2 separate regions of the Homo sapiens genome follow, and region 2 is linked to region 1. The links are contacts of gene promoters, found by promoter capture Hi-C in blood cells and fetal thymus (Javierre and others, 2016). All regions are on one chromosome and are shown on one strand. Each heading gives the region's core, a stretch centred on a gene start or on the middle of the fragment in contact. The rest is flanking DNA. Distances are from core to core; before and after follow the strand shown. Region 1 holds the start of WDR45B (WD repeat domain 45B). Region 2 overlaps TBCD (tubulin folding cofactor D).

The links. Contacts are between HindIII fragments. The CHiCAGO score rates a contact against its expected background, and 5 or more counts as called.
Region 2: a contact is called between a fragment that was not itself captured here and the fragment with the promoter of WDR45B in region 1, in 1 of 17 cell types (M0 macrophages). The highest score is 5.0, in M0 macrophages.

Annotation. Positions count from the first base shown.
Region 1 is chr17:82,646,049-82,650,907 of GRCh38, reverse strand. It overlaps WDR45B (WD repeat domain 45B), which reads left to right and starts at 2,464. Exons shown (of 10, transcript NM_019613.4): 1 at 2,464-2,634. The coding sequence starts at 2,568. RefSeq lists enhancers at 1,872-1,941, 2,320-2,819 and silencers at 2,232-2,301, 2,902-2,951, 2,962-3,011. The HindIII fragment of the contact is 18,003 bases long and covers 1-4,859 here.
Region 2 is chr17:82,936,658-82,941,516 of GRCh38, reverse strand. TBCD (tubulin folding cofactor D) reads right to left here. Exons shown (of 39, transcript NM_005993.5): 35 at 4,157-4,246; 36 at 3,381-3,468; 37 at 2,041-2,150; 38 at 34-118. It overlaps LOC124904095, which reads right to left and starts at 27. Exons shown (of 1, transcript XM_047437261.1): 1 at 1-27. The coding sequence starts at 11. The HindIII fragment of the contact is 5,400 bases long and covers 198-4,859 here.

The DNA of each region.
Region 1 (4,859 bases), core at 1,215-3,714:
TTCATGCCTCTCCCGGCTCCTGGTGACCCCACGATTCCTGCACTTGCTGACTTAGGGCTGAGCACTCCAGTCCCACTGGCTGCTGTCCCCTGTATCTCCTCCATTCCTGTCTCCTCCAAGGGTGCCGGTCACCAGCTTTAAGGCCCACCCCAAATCCAGGATGATCTTATCTCGAGATCCTTAATTACTTCTGCAATGATTCTTTACCTAAAGAAGCCCCTATTCTCAGGTTCTGGGTGGACCTATCTTTTTTTTTTTTTTTTTTTGCGACAGAGTCTTGCTGTGTTGCCCAGGCTGGAGTGTAGTGGCACAATCTCAGTTCAGTGCAGCCTCAGCCTCAATCTCCTGGGCTCAAGCCATCCTCCCTCCTCAGCCCCCCAGGACACATCTTTAGAGGGTCACCATTCAACGCACTGTGGTGGGCAAGGCTGCTTTGAGTTTCCTGGTTAGGATACAACCAGCGCTGTGTGTGGATGTCCACACATGCCCCCGCCCCCGGCTGTACAGCCACCGGGAGACTGAGTAAAATGTGAACTGAAGGAGGCCCCAAGGGTGGCAAGCAGAGAAATGAAGGGAAATGTCCCTTACCCACGCCTCTCTCCTTCCCCCACGTGACACTTCTCACAGCAGGTACCGGTACGTGTGCACAGAGGAGAACCCAGTGCCCTTCAGGGAAGAGGGTGCTGAGCCCCTGGACCGCACTTAGGTCTCGCCCCAGCTCTGTGATTTGGACCTGGGCCCCCGAGCCCTAGTCACAGCCGGGGCGGCCCAACTCGCTCCGCCATCGGAAGGCTTCTGGTCGCTCTCAGGGAGGAGCCCCTCTCGTATGGGAATCGAGGTGTTCAATGCCCACGATGCGGAGACCGCCTGGCCCGAGTGGGCCAGTGATCTCAGCTTACAGTCCAGCTCCTTCCTCCCCATGGCTAAGAGGTCAGCACCAGCTCAGGCAAGTGGCGAGGGTGGGATGAGGATGACAGACGGGGTGGAGGCAGGTGGCTGCGAGGGGACAGTGTCAGGACCTCCTAGGAGATCAGGTGTGCTGCAGGGAACAGGGAGAGCCTAGGAGGGGACAGGAAAGTGAGGAGGGGGAGTGGAGAGGACTCCCTGGGCAAGAGACACGAGGGCCAGCACTCAGGCCTCCACAGCCATCCACTGCATGAGCCAAGCCCAGGGACAAAGCTCTGTGACCAGGATGCCCCCAGCAGCCTGACCCTAAGAGTTGAGAACTGTGCCCTGTGAGCAATGTGACCTGAGGGTCCCGGAGTCCTGCGGGGGCTGTGCTGTGTGAGGGCCACCTGTCCTTTAGGTGGGGTACTAAGGGGTTGTGTCCTCTATGGGCTGTGTCGTGGGGGGGCTGTGTGTCCTCTGGGGGGCTATGTGTCCTGGGAAGGTCCCTGTGTCCTGGGAAGGTCTCTGTGACCTGGCGGTCTGTGTGTCCTGGGGGGGCTGTGTGTCTTAGGGGGACCTCTGTGTCTTCTGGGGGAATATGTGCCCTGGAAAGGACTCTGTGTACTGGGGGAGGCTGTGTGTCTTAGGGGGGCTGTGTCCTGGGGGGGTTTCTGTGTCCCGGGGGGGCTGTGTGTCCTGGGAGTGCTGTGTCCTGGGGGACCTCTGTGTCCTGGGGGCACTGTGTGTCCTGGGGGGACCTCTGTGTCCTGGAGACTGCGTGTCTTGGGGGTCCTCTGTGTCCTGGGGGGTCTCTGTCCTGGGGACTGTGTGTCTTGGGCACCCTCTGCGTCCTGCAGGAGCTGCGTGTCCTGGGGGGGCTGAGTGACTTGGGGGCCCTCTGTGTCCTGGGGGTCTCTGTCTCCTGAAGGGGGACCCTAGTATTGTGGCGCTTCTGGGCTTGCCTCTCATGAGGGATGATGCACCGGGCCTCAGTTTTGGGTCAGCCTCCTTTACCGGCTCTCCCCCCTTCCTCCGACCGTCAGGTATCCGTGCCAAGCCCTCAACGGGCCATCCTCCTTCCCGCGGCGACCCCGCGCATGACAAGGCCAGACCCTCCCGCGAACGTGCTCTGCGCTCCCGCCTGGCCCCTCCCCGCCCCGCCCCTCCCCCTCCTCCCCGCCCCGCCTCGCTCCGCCCCTCCCCGCCTCCGCCCCGCCCCGCCCGCCCTGCCTCTCCCCGCCTTTCCTCGCCTCGCCCCGCCCCGCCCCGCCCCCTCCTCCCCGCCCCGCCTCGCTCCGCCTCTCCCCGCCTCATCCCGCCCCGCCCGCCCTGCCTCTCCCCGCCTCATCCCGCCCCGCCCGCCCTGCCTCTCCCCGCCTTTCCTCGCCTCGCCTCGCCTCGCCCCGCCCCGCCCCTCCCCGCCCTGCCTCGCCTCGTCTCGCCTCGCTTCGGTTAGATGCGCTCGGCGCTCCATAGGCTCCCTGGTGGGGCGCGGGCGCGCGCACGGACGTCCAGCACGCACGCACGCACGTCCAGCACACACGCACATCCAGCACGCACGCACGTACGTCCGGCACTTCCGGCCGCGGCGGCCTCAGCGCCGGCCCGAAGGGACCAGGCCGCCGTCCCCAGCGAGAGGCATGCAGCGCTGAGGAGCGGCGACCCAGCACGGCGGCGCCATGAACCTCCTGCCGTGTAACCCTCACGGCAACGGGCTGCTCTACGCCGGCTTCAACCAGGACCACGGTGAGGAGGCGCGGCCCTGTCGCCTTGCCCGGCCGGGCCTTCCCGCAGCCCGGGGTCCCCGGCTCTCAGGCCTCTCCTGGGCGCCCCTTTCCGGCCAGGCCTTCCACCCGGGACCCCGGCCCCGCCCGAGCTCCCCTCCGAAGCCCCCGGCCCCGGCCCTCGCCGCTGCTCCCAGCCCGAGCCGGGGTCCGGACCAGGCCCGAACCGGCTCCCACCTTCCTGGCCTTTCGCGCTCCCCCACCCCCCGGGTTGTGACCGCTCCCAGCCGGCCGTCCCGGGCCGAGGTCGAGGTCGGTGGGAGACGGCACAGAACCCCAGCCTCCTGCGCGGACGCCCCTCCCCGCGCGCCACGCCCACTCGGGTTCCCTGGCTCCCTGCGGGCTCCACGGTTATCGGGATTTTCCCCACAGCGTGATTGACGCCCTGCCCAGAACCCCGTTTTGCCCCCTGTTCCTTTCAGGGTCTTTAGTAGGTAGCCCGTGGCTGAGCTGACTTCGCTTGGGTTTACTGGAGCCGCGGAGCCGGCGTCTCCGACGCCTCTGGTGGCGAGTGGCGCGGGTGGGGTGCAGGTCTCACCTTTCCCGTCGGTTTCCATCGGAAAATGTCACTCTCCCCACCCCCACTCCCCGGGATTTTTCTTCGTGTTTGGTGGAGTCAAAGGACTTAAGGGAGGCCTTTGAGGGAAATCTTACTTCTTTTCCCATGTCGGAATCCAGGTGTAAGCACTGGATGATTTAAAGCGCCCAGGGAAGGTGACCTCCTTCCCCGCAGGTGCTTCGGAGCTGCGGGGGATGCGGCCGGGGCGGCGCGGTCGGATTCCCGCGGGAGGCGGGCGGGACCTGGATTCGGATGGTTGCCTCCTCACCTCCCATTTGAAGGGCGCGCTTCCCAAAGGTCCTGATGGGGAGGAAAAGGAATGTCCGTTATTCCGAGACAGGCTTCTGCGAGGCTTTACATGTTGGCTTTGGAAGTTTTGTTTTTGAAGAGAATCCAGGCAGGTGCTGTATGATCCCGTATATGTGAAGACAATTTTATTTATTTATTTATTTCATTTTGAGACGGAGTCTCATTCTGTCGCCCAGCCTGGTGCGATCTCGACTCACTGCAACCTCCTCCTCCCGGGTTCACGCCATTCTCCTGCCTCAGGCTCCTGAGTAGCTGGGATTACAGGCGCCTGCCTCCACGCCCGGCTACTTTTTGTATTTTTAGTAGAGACGGGGTTTCACCATGTTGGCCAGGCTGGTCTCAATCTGACCTCAGGTGATCCACCCGCCTCGGCCTCCCAAAGTGCTGGGATTACAGGCGTGAGCCACTGCGCCCGGCCGGATTACACATATTTGAAAGAACTCCCTCTCAGTGATTTTGATGCCTGATGCCCTGGGACCAGTCAGGCTTCCTGGGCGCTGCCAGCTTCCCCAGGGTTGTGTGCTGGGGTTTCTCCGGAAGAAAGTTTTGCTGAGATGGTAAGGGAGATGCCTAGCCTTCTCAGAGGGTGGTTTCCAACCATCTGGTGTTTGTAATGCCTTCTTTTTAGTGAAGTGTGCTATACCTGTAGAAGGGTGGATATATCATAAGTGTTCAGGTGATGAATTTTCCAAACTACACACCTGTCACTAACAATTAAGAAATTGAATATACCTGGCCACGCTTGATTCCAATAAATGCTCCCTACCTGACTTGTGACATCATAGATTAGTTTTGCCTACTTCTGTACTTTATTTTTGTACTTATTTTTGTTTCTAGCTGTTTTTTTGTTTTGGGTTTTTTTTTTTTTTTTTTTTTTTTGAGACGGAGTTTTCGCTCTTGTTGCCCAGGCTGGAGTGCAATGGCGCGTTCTAGGCTCACTGCAAACTCCGCCTCTCAGGTTCAAGCAATTCTCCTGTCTCAGCCTCCCGAGTAGCTGAGATTACAGGCATGCACCACCATGCCTGGCTAATTTTGTATTTTTAGTAGAGACTGGGTTTCTCCGTGTTGAGTCTGGTCTTGAACTCCTGACCTCAGGTGATCCGCCCACCTCGGCCTCTCAAAGTGCTGGGGTTACAGGCGTGAGCCACGGCGCCAGGCTGTTTCTAGGTTTCTTACTCAACATCATGTTTGTGATTTTTTTTTTCCGTATTGTTGAGTATAGTTGTAGATCTTTTTTTTTTTCTTTTTCCGAGACGGATCTTGCTCTTGCCCAGGCTGGAGTGCTGTGGCGTGATCTCAGCTCACTGCAACCTCTGCCT
Region 2 (4,859 bases), core at 1,648-4,147, 290 kb before region 1:
AGGCACCTCATGCTGTGAAGGTGACAGGGTTACCTGGGGCACCAGCTGGGGCCTGGGTACGCCCAGAAGGTCACACAGACGGTTGCGCTGCTCTCTCACCACTGCAAGCTCCGCGTCCCTGTGAGGAGAGGGAGAGCCGTGAGTCTCTCGAGTGCCCACCGGAGAACCTCAGGTGTGCGGAGGTCCCGCGTCAAGCTTCCATGGCCGCAGTCAGGGAAAGGAGACCTCACCCCCGACATCCATAGCCAGGCTGAGGGCAGAAAAGACGTCACAGGAGCACGTTCTCCAGCAGAGCCTCGAGCCTGAGCCCTTTCCGGAATCGCAGGAGGACGGTTCCTTCCCAACAAGGGGTGCCCCTCGGGAAGGACCACGCCCAGCGCAGGGACTGCGGGAGGACAGACCAAGCGAGGCCAAGGAGGGGCTGACAAGGGTTTTCCAGGTTTTAATTTAGCTGTTGATGCGAAATAAAAATTCTAGCAATGCTGTGGAGATATCTGGGGCATGTTTTTCGTTTCTAATTTAAAATATTCTCTTTAAATTCTAAGGATTTTTTTTTTTAACAGAAAGGGGATTAAACGATAGGAGAAGCCCCCAGGCCCACCCTGCTAGTTCCTCCCTCCCTGATGTGAGGAAAGGAGGCCACCCCGACCCAGCCTCGCTGGAGGAGGCCTCGCCCCGCTCGGGACACCTGGCTTCTTCAGTCCTAAAGCCAATTATTTTAGAATCTGGTCCAGAATGCACCTTGGTGTTTTTTTTTAAAAAAATCATTGTAAAAACGGGTCTCCAGAGCAGTAGTTAAGATGGCCATTCTCTCAACGCATGTTGAGAAGACAGCCCAGCTGCTCCCGGTTCCTCTCCTGGGACCACGTGTTTGTTTAGGAGCAGACACACACTCCTCCCCAAACCAGAAAACCTCGCGGAAGCCCTGGAGAGGCCACCTCTGTCCTCCGAGGCCACAGCGGCTGCCTGGTGCGTGAGCTCTATGGGAACCCAGCCCTGTTGGAAGGTCACTGTTCCGAGGAGACACCTAGGGAACGTCACCTACGTCCTTGCTGGATTCAACAAGGGGCGTGGACCCCACAGACCTGTAGCAACGCACCGGGATCAGCACGGAGGCCCTCACAGTCGGCACTCAAAACAGAGCAGCATCCACAGGCAGGACACCTGGGACTCCACCACCCCGGGTATGCCATGTGGACACCCACACAGCCTCTGGTTGCTTCAGTCCTGATCTCCAACACGGGGTGACGAGACTGCTCCCCTTTTAGAAGTGTGTGTGTGTGTGTGTGTGTGTGCGCGCGTGCAAGTGAGCATGTGTGTGAGCCAGCATGGGTGCCCATGCCCATATGTGTAAGACACCATCACTGCTGTTCCCAGGAACATACCGGTTGGCCCAGGACACCTGAGCCTGCACTTTCCCCACTCTGCTCTCATTCAGACCCTCCCACCCCCAACTCAATACACACATCTTTCAAAACCGCCATTCTACTCCACCCATGGTAAAGAAGCCAGCCCATGTTGCAGAAACTGTGCCTGCCAAAGTAAACGTGGAGAGTGGCACTATGGCCTCCTGAGGGCCTCATGGCCCTGAGGAAGGGGGTGGACATCAGAGCAGAGGCGTGGGGAGAGCTTTTCTTATTTCCGCCTGTGCCTCTTGATTTCCAACAGGTGCTCACACGGCCTATTCCAAGAGAACTTTAGAGAGGTCTGGGGCAGCAGCACCTGCCAGGCCTTCAGTGCCCTCTGCTCCACAGGCCACCAGACACAGCCTTGTGGTACAGGTGCCCGCTCCCCTGGTGGGATGGATGGCTTTGCTGTGTTCCTGACACCTGACACTGTTTGGGGACAGGGCGGTTGAGAAGAGGTTTCGGCTACAGCAGCACGGCTGCCTTGTAAAACCTAAGCAGAGGATGTGGAGACCTGGGAACCCTCTTTCCTCCTCCTATCAGAGGGTTTTGGGAGAGACGAGTAGACACGGTGGGGACAGGAAGAGGGGCGGTGCCAGGCCCAGGTGGCCGTGCAGGAAGGGCCTTCACTCACCACGCAGTGTCACTGAGCACAGTCACCACCTCGTCCAGCACATCCGCGCCCACGACGTCACTGTAGGTGAGCAATGTCTCGTACACCTGGCTGGCCGTGGTCTTCCGGATCTGGGACAGGGATGCAGTGCATTTGCCGGAGGGAAGCGCCACCGCCCCACCCCGGAGAGACGACAGGACCCAGGCCAGGGAGCCCCGTCAGTGGAAGGCGTCAGGAGGAGGACGCTGACCCTGCATCCCATCCCAGCCACAGCAGGGCTGCAACCAAGAGGAGGTGCCTTCCAGGCCCATTAACCACCTCCTCCCTCCACAGACACACAGCTAGCTGCAGGATCCCAGCAGTGAAGATGACATCATTCTTGTTTAAATGCTTTATTAACCAACCTGCTCCCTCACCAGAGAAGCAATCTCGCCTGCTCTCTATTAACTAACCTGCTCCCTCACCAGAGAAGCAATCTCGCCTGCTATTAACCAACCTGCTCCCTCACCAGAGAAGCAATCTCGCCTGCTCTCTTTTCATCAGAGAAGCACTCTCACCTGCTCTCTATTAACCAACCTGCTACCTCACCAGAGAAGCAATCTCGCCCGCTATCTATTAACCAACCTGCTCCCTCACCAGAGAAGCAATCTCACCTGCTCTCTTTTCACCAGGGAAGCAATCTCGCCTGCTCTCTTTTCATCAGGGAAGCAATCTCGCCTGCTCTCTTTTCATCAGGGAAGCAATCTCGCCTGCTCTCTTTTTGAGTGGTGCCCTGGTCATCATGTCTCACTGCGCTGGTGGTCTGAGCCCCGGGCCCACCCTGGAGGTGCTGAGTCGGCAGCACAGGGCCCAAGAGCTGCACTGCTGAAGCCCCAGAGGTGCCAAGCCTGAGGGTCCGGCACCCCACTTCGAGAACCACCATACAACATGAAGTTACTTTTGCCTTTTAGGAAAATGTCACCTTTGTATCATCTGAGGTTTTTTTTGCAGCCAGGAGAAAAGAAATCCTAGAAATCTAATAGCCGGGGAGTGCTGGGGATGAAGGGCACTGCCCCTAGGTGTGGCTGAACCACTTCAGCCTGGGTCCTTCTGGAAGCTCCTGAGCCAGATCCCACCGCCAGGTCACCCCTCAATGTATGTCCATAGAAACGCCAGCCGGACAGCCCGTCCTTAAAGCCAGAACAGTGGCGTCCAGAGCCCCTTGGCAGCCGCGTGCCTGTGACGCGTCGTCACCCAGGCGCGTTAACGAGAGGGGCTCGGCTGGAAAGCACACCAACACAACAGTGCCAGCGAAGGCCTTCTTGTCACTGAGGGGCTTGTGTCCACACGGCAAACACACGTGAGCAGGGGCAGGCACTCACCAGCGGGAAACGGTGGCAGAGGAGCAGACACAGCTGCAGGAGGGCCTGCCTCCTCACGTCGCCGGGGAACTGCACCATCTCGCAGAACCTGCCGGGAGCAGCACATGGCTCCAGGTGAGCCCCACCCCGCGCAGGCCAACCCCAGCAAACCCCGGACCCAAAGGCCCATGCAGAGACCTGGGCAGAGCAGATCCGTGAGCACAGTGCGGGCCTGGGGCCCCAAGCCGGAGGTGTGTGTGTGCGTACATCTGCACTGTGCCTACACACACGAGTGTCGCACTTGGAAAGTCACTGTGGGAAGTGAGGACGCCTCACAGAGGATCTCCTGCAGGGCCGCTCGCCCTGCCATGAGGACCCCCACCTCAAGGAGCCACAGAGCAGCCAAGGTGCCTATCGCTGGCTGGCGCACCTGCCCAGTGTCCACCTGAGCGCCGCAGAGCAAGGCACTCAACAGCGACCCCCAGGGCACACAGGAGAATCGGGGAGGCAGCCCCTGACCACGCAGCTCCTTTCCGGAGCCTCCCCTCCCGCCAGGGCAGAGCGCGAGGGCAGCAGAGGCAGAGCTCGCCTGTTCCCGCGGGAACTCCCTCCACCAGCACCTGGGCTGCCTCACCTCCCATTGCGACTGCTTTGAACATTGGAATGCACGATCTTAGGTTAGCTTGAGGAGTAACACTAACTGCTCCTCTCCCGCCTGGAGCCGTGGACTCCTGCCCTCAGCCAAGGGAGGCTGCGCCCTGCCATTCCGTCTAAGGCCAGCAGCACTTGAAACTCACACTGCGATGCCTGACAGGAGCTTCTGGATATCTTTTGAATTCTTGATTTCTTTCTTACAGAGCGCAAGCAACTTCACAGCAAAGGGGTGGCTGGAAGAACAACACACACTTTAGAGATGAGCTTTCACAGGCAGCCCCGGGATGCACACTTTTTCTGTCTCAAAGAAGGTCAACTCCGTCCTCCCAGTGGCTCAGTCCAAGAAGCCTGCAGCCCTGAGGCCCCTCTGCCAGCAAGTCCGCTGGTCCCCATCCCAATACCTCCACAGGCCGGCCTGGTCCCTAGCGGCTGTGCCACCACCTGGCCGGCCTCTGCTGTCTCTTGCTCTCTTGCCTGTGGTGCAGCAGCCCCCACGGGGCCCCACCTCCCTTTCCAGGCCCCAGGGTCTGTCCCCAACACAGCGGCGGCCAGGATGCCCGTGCTCCTCCACCACTCCCTCCAGAGGCTACCTGGCCTGGGCTGCTGCAGAGCCGGGGGAAACTGCCGACACACAGAGGACACACAAGGCTGTGCAGTGTTGTTTTGAGCCTTCAGTGGCAGCAGGGACAAGGGCTGAGGCTTGGTGCTGACAAAGGCACAGCCCTGATGAGCAGCTCTGAGAGGGCACCTGGAAGGCCACTCCAGGGAGGAGAAGGTGCGCACCTCCCTCTCTCAGTGGGGAATGCAGCCAAGCTCCAGCCACCCAACAGGCCAGGAAACCCTCAC